Regions from separate parts of the Homo sapiens genome. Here region 2 is linked to region 1. Evidence: promoter capture Hi-C in 16 types of primary human blood cells and fetal thymus (Javierre and others, 2016). All regions are on one chromosome and are shown on one strand. Each heading gives the region's core, a stretch centred on a gene start or on the middle of the fragment in contact. The rest is flanking DNA. Distances are from core to core; before and after follow the strand shown. Region 1 holds the start of OR9K2 (olfactory receptor family 9 subfamily K member 2). Region 2 has its middle 14 kb from the start of PPP1R1A.

Region 1 (4,180 bases), core at 757-3,256:
ATCACTGTACTATATCAACTTTAAATAAAGGACCCTTCCTGTTCCCCTACCTTACTTCTGCTTGTACTTTAGAGTGTAGTTAAAATTTCATATTTCCAAATAAAATCTCTAATTCTTCAACCTGGGTCAAAACATCTCATCCAAAGATAATTTGAAGAGACCAACTGCCACCATATTTTAATATTGAGGTTACATATTAATTATTCTTCACTTGACAATAACTTAAGACAAAATTCAATTTGTTCTCCATATATTGTCAGCATAACGTTATGTGTCTGGTAAATGGCAGTTAATACATATTTACTATAGATAAAAGTTGAATGATAATGATCATGCAGAAACAGAGAAAAATATAAAAACTATCCATCCAATACTGCAGTGGTTAGTATGGGTTTTAGGTTTAAATAAATCTAGGCTCCAGTTCTGCTTCTCTCACTTTCTAAATGGGATCTTGGACAAGTTACTTATGCTCTCTCTCTATGCTACTGTATTCTCATATATAAAGTGGAAATAAGAGTCCTCAAAGTTTTCTTGGGAATAGAAAATGACATACGTATGTAAATCACTTAGCACCATTTATGGTAAACTAAGTATTCAGTAAATGTTAGCCATTATTTTTATTATACGTTTCAGTGCTCAGTCCCACTATTCATACCAAATAGTGCTTATTAGGTTGAAAACCAATAATATATATGGTCGTTTTTGGACAAAACATTCTCAGTTGAGGGGAAGAATCAATCTGTTAAAAGTTTAGAGAGATGAAGAACTCTTGGAGAAATGGAATATTTTGCCTGAGAAAAAAGATTATTAAGAGAAAAGCTGAATAAGATGTTATCATTATTTAAGACTGTATTAAATGTTGAAAATAAAATATTCACCCATTTTATCAAAAATTAAATATGTAAGTAATTAAGAAGTAGTAAGAGCTTACATTAGATTGCACTTAGGGTCTGGAAAGATGTGAGACATTTAAGAAGTGAAAGAAAGCTGACTGAAGTCAGCATGAAAAATCATTTTTTGAAAAATAATATATATAATTTATCTTCATTTTATTCTCATCTAGAAGCAAAACAGATTATTTTAATTTCTAAGATTTATTTCTATCAAACTCATTTCAACATTAGAATTTAATATTATTATTAATAGTAATTATTCCTCACTTGACAATAATATCCTTAACATCAAACTCAGCTTGTTTGCTGCGTATTGTCAACATAATGTTCTGAATCTAGTGAATGACAATAATTCAATACATATTATTACGTAGAAAAAAGCTGAATGATAATGAGTATGTGGAATCAGAGAATATAAAAAAACAAACTTATTAAAATAAATTTATATCATAAATGTTATAAACATTGTAACATTATAAATGTTAATAAATGCATTGCTGATGACATTTTTTACCTGGAAAAGGGAGTTATTCCCGCAGAAGCCAACAACAAGTAGTCAGTTTGTGACTTATTTTTCAAAAACTTACAGGTTTTAAGTTACTTTTACCTTGTATTGTTTAGTAACTGGTCAGATTCTGGTAAAAATCAATCAGCAGAGTTCCAATGTTTTCCTCTGTTTATTGTTTTAATTCTAGAAAGGATAAACATAAAGTTAATTAATGACTGTCATAATTATAAATACTGAAAAATAATTACTTTGAAATAAAATGAATCATTCCCCACAAATCCACATTTATTATTACAGTTTTAGATTCTTCCCATAGATAAATGTGGCTTATGTGCCTCATTGCTCTATTTTAAAAAGTCTTTTTTTCAGTAGTTGATTTCCTGAAAAGTTTTATAGTCCTTTTTAGAAGAGAGTCAAGGTGAATTTTTCAAATCATGTTCTGCCAAAACTGAAGTGATTCCAGGAACAAAAATCTATAGATAAGCAAAGTGAACCTGAGGAATCAATCCACAAGATATTATCTATCCTGAATTCTCAGAAACTTGTATGCTTTCAAGGCAAGAGGATAGATTGCCATGGATATGCAAGTAGAGGTCCTGAGCTCTTTGGCATCTCTGAATACTGCCAAAATATCAACAGCAGTTATCCACGAGGGCTTCGGTTTTGCTACAGCTTTTTCATATAATTACAGTATTGAGATTTCCTCTATGTTCTGGGAGACAGTACCTCTGGGAGAGAAGAACACAAGTCAATTAATTAGTAAGACTTCTAGGATCTAAAAGCAAGATCCATGAAGACCTCAGAGATTCTATATTTTTTTAAAAAGCCTAAGAGTACTTAAAGTACATATGAGACATTCTTTAGGAAAAATCACAAGGATCTTTTAATTTTAATTTCTTCACTGAAAAAGCAGCATTTTCAATTTATCATTATAGCACAGTTTTTGATAAGCAAGTAGAAATAGATACGAAAGGAAATGTTGTGGTTCATAATGCCATTTGTAGGAAAATTTTGAGTCCTAATCATAAAGTTAATTTCATATTTACTTTCAGAATTCTATTCACCCAAATCTCTCCTTGATGACTTTTTAAACTATATTTTCTCAATAGTAATTGAGAAGAAAGATAGAACAGCACGACCATGATATGGGCAAAAATCCAACAAACGCCCTCTAATCCATCAAGTAAAGGCCACATGATTAACTGGATCTAAAGTTGGGTTTATATTGTAATTTTAATTGCTTTAAAGTTGTTTATTCAGGTGTCATGTATTAAGTTAGTAACTTCTCATCAGTCCCTGTATATAGTTCAAAATAATTTAAAGAACTGTTGGTTCCTTCCGGTGAGTGTTAAAGTTCTTAAAGGTGGTGTGTCCGGAGTTTGTTCCTTCAGATATTTAGATGTGTCCAGAGTTTCTTCCTTCTGGTGGGTTTGTGGTCTCACTGACTTCAAAAGTGAGTTACAGCTCTTAAAATCTCTTAAAGGTGGCATGTCTGGAGTTGTTCGTTCCTCCCGGTGGGTTTGTGGTCTCGCTGACTTGGAACCAACCCAAATGTCCAACAATGATAGACTGGATTAAGAAAATGTGGCACATATACACCATGGGATACTATGCAGTCATAAAAAAGGATGAGTTCATGTCCTTTGTTGGGACACGGATGAAGCTGGAAACCATCAGTCTCAGCAAACTATGGCAAGGACAGAAAACCAAACACCGCACGTTCTCACTCATAGGTGGGAATTGAACAACTACAACACTTGGACACAGGGTGGGGAACATCAGACACCGGGGCCTGTCCTGAGGTGGCGGGGGGGGACAGATAGCATTAGGAGATATACCTAATGTAAATGATGAGTTAATGGGTGTAGCACACCAACATGGCACATGTATACATATGTAACACACCTGCACGTTGCGCACATGTACCCTAGAACTTAAAGTCTAATAATAATTAAAAAACAAAAACAAAAAAAGAAAAGAAAAAAAACAAAAAGGAGTGAAGCTTCAGACCTTTGCAATGAGTGTTACAGCTCATAAAGGTGGCACCTCCAGAGCTGTTCTTTCTTCGGGTGGGTTTGTAGTCTGGCTTGCTTCAGGAGTGAAGCTGCAGACCTTGGTGGTGAATTTTACAGCTCATAAGGGCAGCAGGGCCCCAAAGAGTGAGCAGCAGCAAGATTTGTTGCTAAGCTGAAAAACAAAGCTTCCACAGGGTGGAAGGGGAATCTAGTGGGTTGCTTTTATCCCCTTATTTGTCCTCACCCACGTCCTGCTGATTGGTCCATTTTACAGAGCACCGATTGGTCCATTTTTCAGAGTGCTGATTGGTCCGTTTTTACAGAGTGCTGATTGGTGCATTTACAAACCTTTACCTAGACACAGAGTGCTGATTGGTGTGTTTACAATCCTTTAGCTAAACAGAAAAGCTCTCCAAGTCCCCACCCCACCCAGAAGCCCAGCCAGCTTCACCTCTCAGTTGGTTCAGCAAAATGAATGTAAATTCAGTAAGGAGACTGAATTTAGAGCTCATTTTATCAATTGTTGTGTTCCCCTAGTAAAATTATCTCTCCGTTAAGCAGTAAGAATATTCATTCAGCAGGGACAAATGTCATGCAAGCATCCAGCAAAAAAAAATTGAGAGTGAGTTGATAGGTTTTACAGTGGTGGCTGACAATCCCATTTTGACTCCTTGTACTTGGACCTGTAATTGTTTCATATATTTGTCGCTAATGAAGAGCACAGATTATATCCTGGATGACAGTTACTCACCTTTCTAAAGTAA
Region 2 (4,180 bases), core at 835-3,334, 520 kb after region 1:
AATGTGAGTAGTTCCTCTGGCATCTACAAGGTTGACTTAATCCAACCCCAAGGAGCTCATGGGTCCCTCCTTTTCAAAGTTAGAGTAACTAGGATACACGAAATACCATGCACCAGCTCTGCACCAACCAAACTCAGAAACACAAGCACATTCTCAGGCCCCAGAGCAATTATGTGCCCAGGCCCTAGTGCATGGTTTTTTGTGGGGCTTTTAAGGGTTGTTTTGTTTGTTTGTTTGTTTGTTTGTTTGTTTTGCAGGGGTAGAAGGTGGAAGAAAAAAACCTTCTACACAGGTTCAAGGTGCAGAGAGAGATGTCATGGAGGGCCAGCGCTCAGCCGCAGTGCCTCAGGTATACCTGGCTCCATGCAGGTTCTCCAGCCACACTTCTGCTGCTGCTTGTGGGCCTCATCTCATCTGTGTTCCTCCTACATGTCATTATCAGTGAGCAGCTCACGGCAGCATAGCGGGAGGAATTTGTCTTGCTTAACCAGGGAAGGTTCAGTTGCGTTGGAAGAGGGGATGGCAAGGCATCTCCATGTCAGTCTCCTCCTCAAGGCTCAAAAGACACATGGGGCACTTGAGCTGTGCAGGAATCCCATGGCTAATGCCAGCATCATACTGTGGCAGAAACTAAGTGGTATCTGCAAGAAGAGAGAAAGCCTTGACTTCACAAGTGGGAGAAATCTCTCGTGGAGTGACTAATGTTGGCATTAAGTTTGCCTTCAGAGGGTGGGGTCATGTATACAGCCTCTTCTTTCAAAGTGGGGGCTTAGGATATTTCTATCATCTTATGATATTTAGAAGTTTAAGCTTGATTCAATCATACCACAATGTATACATATATCGAAACATCACATTGTACCCCTTAAATGTATACAACTATGATTTGTCAATTAAAAAATTAAAAATTTTTAGAAAACATAGAATCTCAGACGTGACTAGATCTATTTATTTCACGCATGAATTCCCTTTAGAGTGTATTTCATCTTCTCAGTAATTCTGTGGCATGCTTCCTCAGGACATGGGCAATAACAGCCCCCAAACCCCCATTAAAAAAAAAAAAAACCTGCATTCCTTTGAAACTTACCTAATAATGTTTCACCACTAAACTTCCTGTTCGTCTTCCCTCACTCTGTGCAAGTGACTGGGTCAACGCTCCCTCTAGCGGCCTCAAACTGTTTTGCATCGTTGTTAAATCTCTCCAGGCCCCATTCACCCTCCGTGATCTAGAAATAAATAAATATTCTGCTCTCTTCTAGTTCCATCCTTAAAACTATCTAGGCATAGAGCCATTTCCCTTCTCTTTTAATGTATCTCAAGCATGGGCTCTATGAACTCAAACTTTCTCCTGAGAAAATCTCATCTTTTCTCCCAACTCAATCAACAGAACTGCCCTCTTTTTTCTTTTCCCTTTCTGTCTGACTTGTCTCACTATAAGACCAAGACTTGTACCTTATATGAACCCCACGTTTCCCTGATTCTTAGGAAAATATGATTTCTAAAGAGTTTTCCAGGTACAGGACTTGTTCATTTCTCCCATACTCTTCAAGTTTATAGTAATTCCATGGAGTTTTTCTTCACTTTCACCCAGTGACATTTCCTCCACATAAAGGATCCCATTATTTTTATCTGTATGAAGTCGACCACACCTCTGTGGTTAATCCCACAGTGGGACTCTGAAATCTGAAACCCTGGCTGGAGCTTCATAAATGTACAACCCCAAGCCACTTTGAGACTACGTGGTAGGAAATAATCCCAGGAGCCTGTGATCAGGCCATAAACAAAATCCCTCCTGAGTCTTCCTGCCACCCTAAATGCAGTTCAAAACAAAGCACACATTGGGACCTGCATCTGTGGGTGAGAAAAAAGAACAAGAGAAACGTGTTAAATGAAAACTAGGAAAAAAGTGAACAACAACATAAAAGAAACCAAACTAGACAATCAGTTGGACAGCCAACCTAGCATCACCTACTAAATATTAACACACATCATCTGAAGCCAAAATTTCACAGCCTTATGCTCTGTACCCAAGTGGAATTGGGATAATTTCATTCCAGCCTCAGCTGCACCCACGCAGCTGCAGGTCAGAGTTACCTTTAGAGTGTTTGCTGTTAAAATCCACTGTATTTGGGTCCCCCAAGGCCAGTCTTTGACTTCACCATCACAGCTCCAGGGAGGGCCACCAGCACGTCATCCCTCTGCCCCTCTGAGTCTGGCCAATGGAGAAGGTGTCCAGAGAACAAGGAGCAAAAAGGAAACCAAAACATCGATTGTATTAACAGCCAGACAAGTGCCGGGGAACCCACAGCACTCTGACCTCTCTGGCAAGGCTGAGCTGGAGAATGCTATCGAGACACAAGCCCAAAAGGGGCCTTCTCTCTGTCCTGCCTGAGCCACTAAACGGTGAGAGAAACAGCATGCATCCCCCAGGGAAGAGGTGGGAAGGTGAAGTCCTGTCCAAGTGTGCACCCTCATGAGAGAGGGCAGGAGGGAAAGAGGCAAAGCTGTTGAGGAACATTCCTGTTGATGCATTAACTCCGCCCCCTGGTGAAACGTGGTGTAATAAATGTTCTGTCTCACCAGCTGTCATAGCATCTCACCCTGTGGGAAGGAGCAGTCACCCAGAAGAGAGCCTTTCATCTTGTATTAGTTTTCTAATTACAAATTACCACAAATTTACCAGCTTAAAACAACACAAATTAATTATTTTACAGTTCTGTAGTTCAGGAGTTCCAGATGGGTCTCACTGGGCTAAAATCAAGGCATGTCAGCAGGCAGGGCTGCGTTCCTTTCTGGAGTCTCTAGGGGAGAATTCATTTCCTTGCCCTTTCCAGCTTCTAAAGGCTGTCCACAGTCTTTGGCCCATGGCCCCATTCCTCCATTTTCAAAGCCAGCCCCATCCGGCCAAGGCTTCTCACCCTGCCATCAGTCTAGTTATCTCTTTGGAATCCTTTGTCCACATTTAGGGATGCTTGAGATTATACCAGGCCCACCCAGATAATCTAGGAGAATTTCCCTATTTTAAGACCAGCTGATTAGCAACCTCAGTTCAATCTGCAACCTTAATTCTCTGTTGCCAGTGTAACCCAACACACTTACAGGTTCTGTGATTTCCGACGTGGACCTCTTTGTGGGGCCATTAGTTATTCTGCTCCCACACATCTCCCATGGGATTAGCCACCACTCACATCCCCCCTTAAGCCATAGGAATCAGTCACCAAAGGCCTTGAAACCATTCAGGTAGGCACCAAGGTCTATTCCTTGTCCTGATTCCTCTTGTAGAAAGGTGGGCAACCAAGATCCTTGGGTTCTGTCTCTCTGTTGACCACAGTCACTTCCAGGACCAAGCCAAAGCTTTCAGATATATTTGTCATCCAGAACCCCTACCCTGTTTGGCTCTGTCAGCCCCAAATCTAGCCCAATTCTCTCTGCCCAGTCTCTCTCTGCCAAACCCTTTTACTATGCCCTCTAGAACTCCTGATCAGTGGTCAGTAAATTCCTTGGTATTCCCAATGTCTTGTTTTGAATTTTCTCTCTATTGCTTAATCTCCCTTTTTTTTCTTTCTTCTCCCAACTTTCAACTGATACCCGTTTTTTCTTCTTTCTTCTCCCATCTTTCAACTGATATTGCCTAATCTAAAATAACATTTTAAGGCCAGGTGTGGTGGCTCATGCCTGTAATTCTAGAGCTTTGGGAGGCCAAGGTGGGAGGAACGCTTGAGGCTAGGTTTTCAAGACCAGACTAGGCAACATAGCAAGACCCTGTCTCTAAAATAAAAACAATTAGCTGGGCATGGTGGCACGTGCCTGTAGCCCCAGCTACTTCAGAGGCTGAGGTGGGAGGATCACTTAAGCCCAGGAGTTCAAGGCTGCAGTGAGCTACAATCATGCCACTGTACTCCAGCCTGGGTGAGAGAGTAAGAACCTGTCCTTTAAAAAATAATAATAATAATAATTTCAGATTTTCTGAGACTCTGACAACCTCTATTTCACTCTCAAGTGGAAACTGCTTTCTCCTTTAGCCACCAACCGCCTCAGAATCCGAAGGTGGGAAGAAGGATTTTCCTCCTTGTTCTCCACTGCCACTTCTAAACCATTCCTCTTCCGTTCTACTCCAAAATCTCCCCTTCTTTGAAGCTCAGAATACATGCTGCGCCCTCCTACCAACCCCTCTCCCTTA

What was found. Contacts are between HindIII fragments. The CHiCAGO score rates a contact against its expected background, and 5 or more counts as called.
Region 2: a contact is called between a fragment that was not itself captured here and the fragment with the promoter of OR9K2 in region 1, in 2 of 17 cell types (activated CD4 T cells and naive CD4 T cells). The highest score is 5.4, in activated CD4 T cells.

What each region holds. Positions count from the first base shown.
Region 1 is chr12:55,124,232-55,128,411 of GRCh38, reverse strand. OR9K2 (olfactory receptor family 9 subfamily K member 2) reads right to left here and starts at 2,006. Exons shown (of 3, transcript NM_001005243.2): 1 at 1,896-2,006; 2 at 1,501-1,584. The HindIII fragment of the contact is 7,142 bases long and covers 1-3,405 here.
Region 2 is chr12:54,600,359-54,604,538 of GRCh38, reverse strand. No RefSeq gene overlaps it. Among named protein-coding and RNA genes, the nearest start is that of PPP1R1A, 14 kb to the right of the region's middle. The HindIII fragment of the contact is 2,544 bases long and covers 813-3,356 here.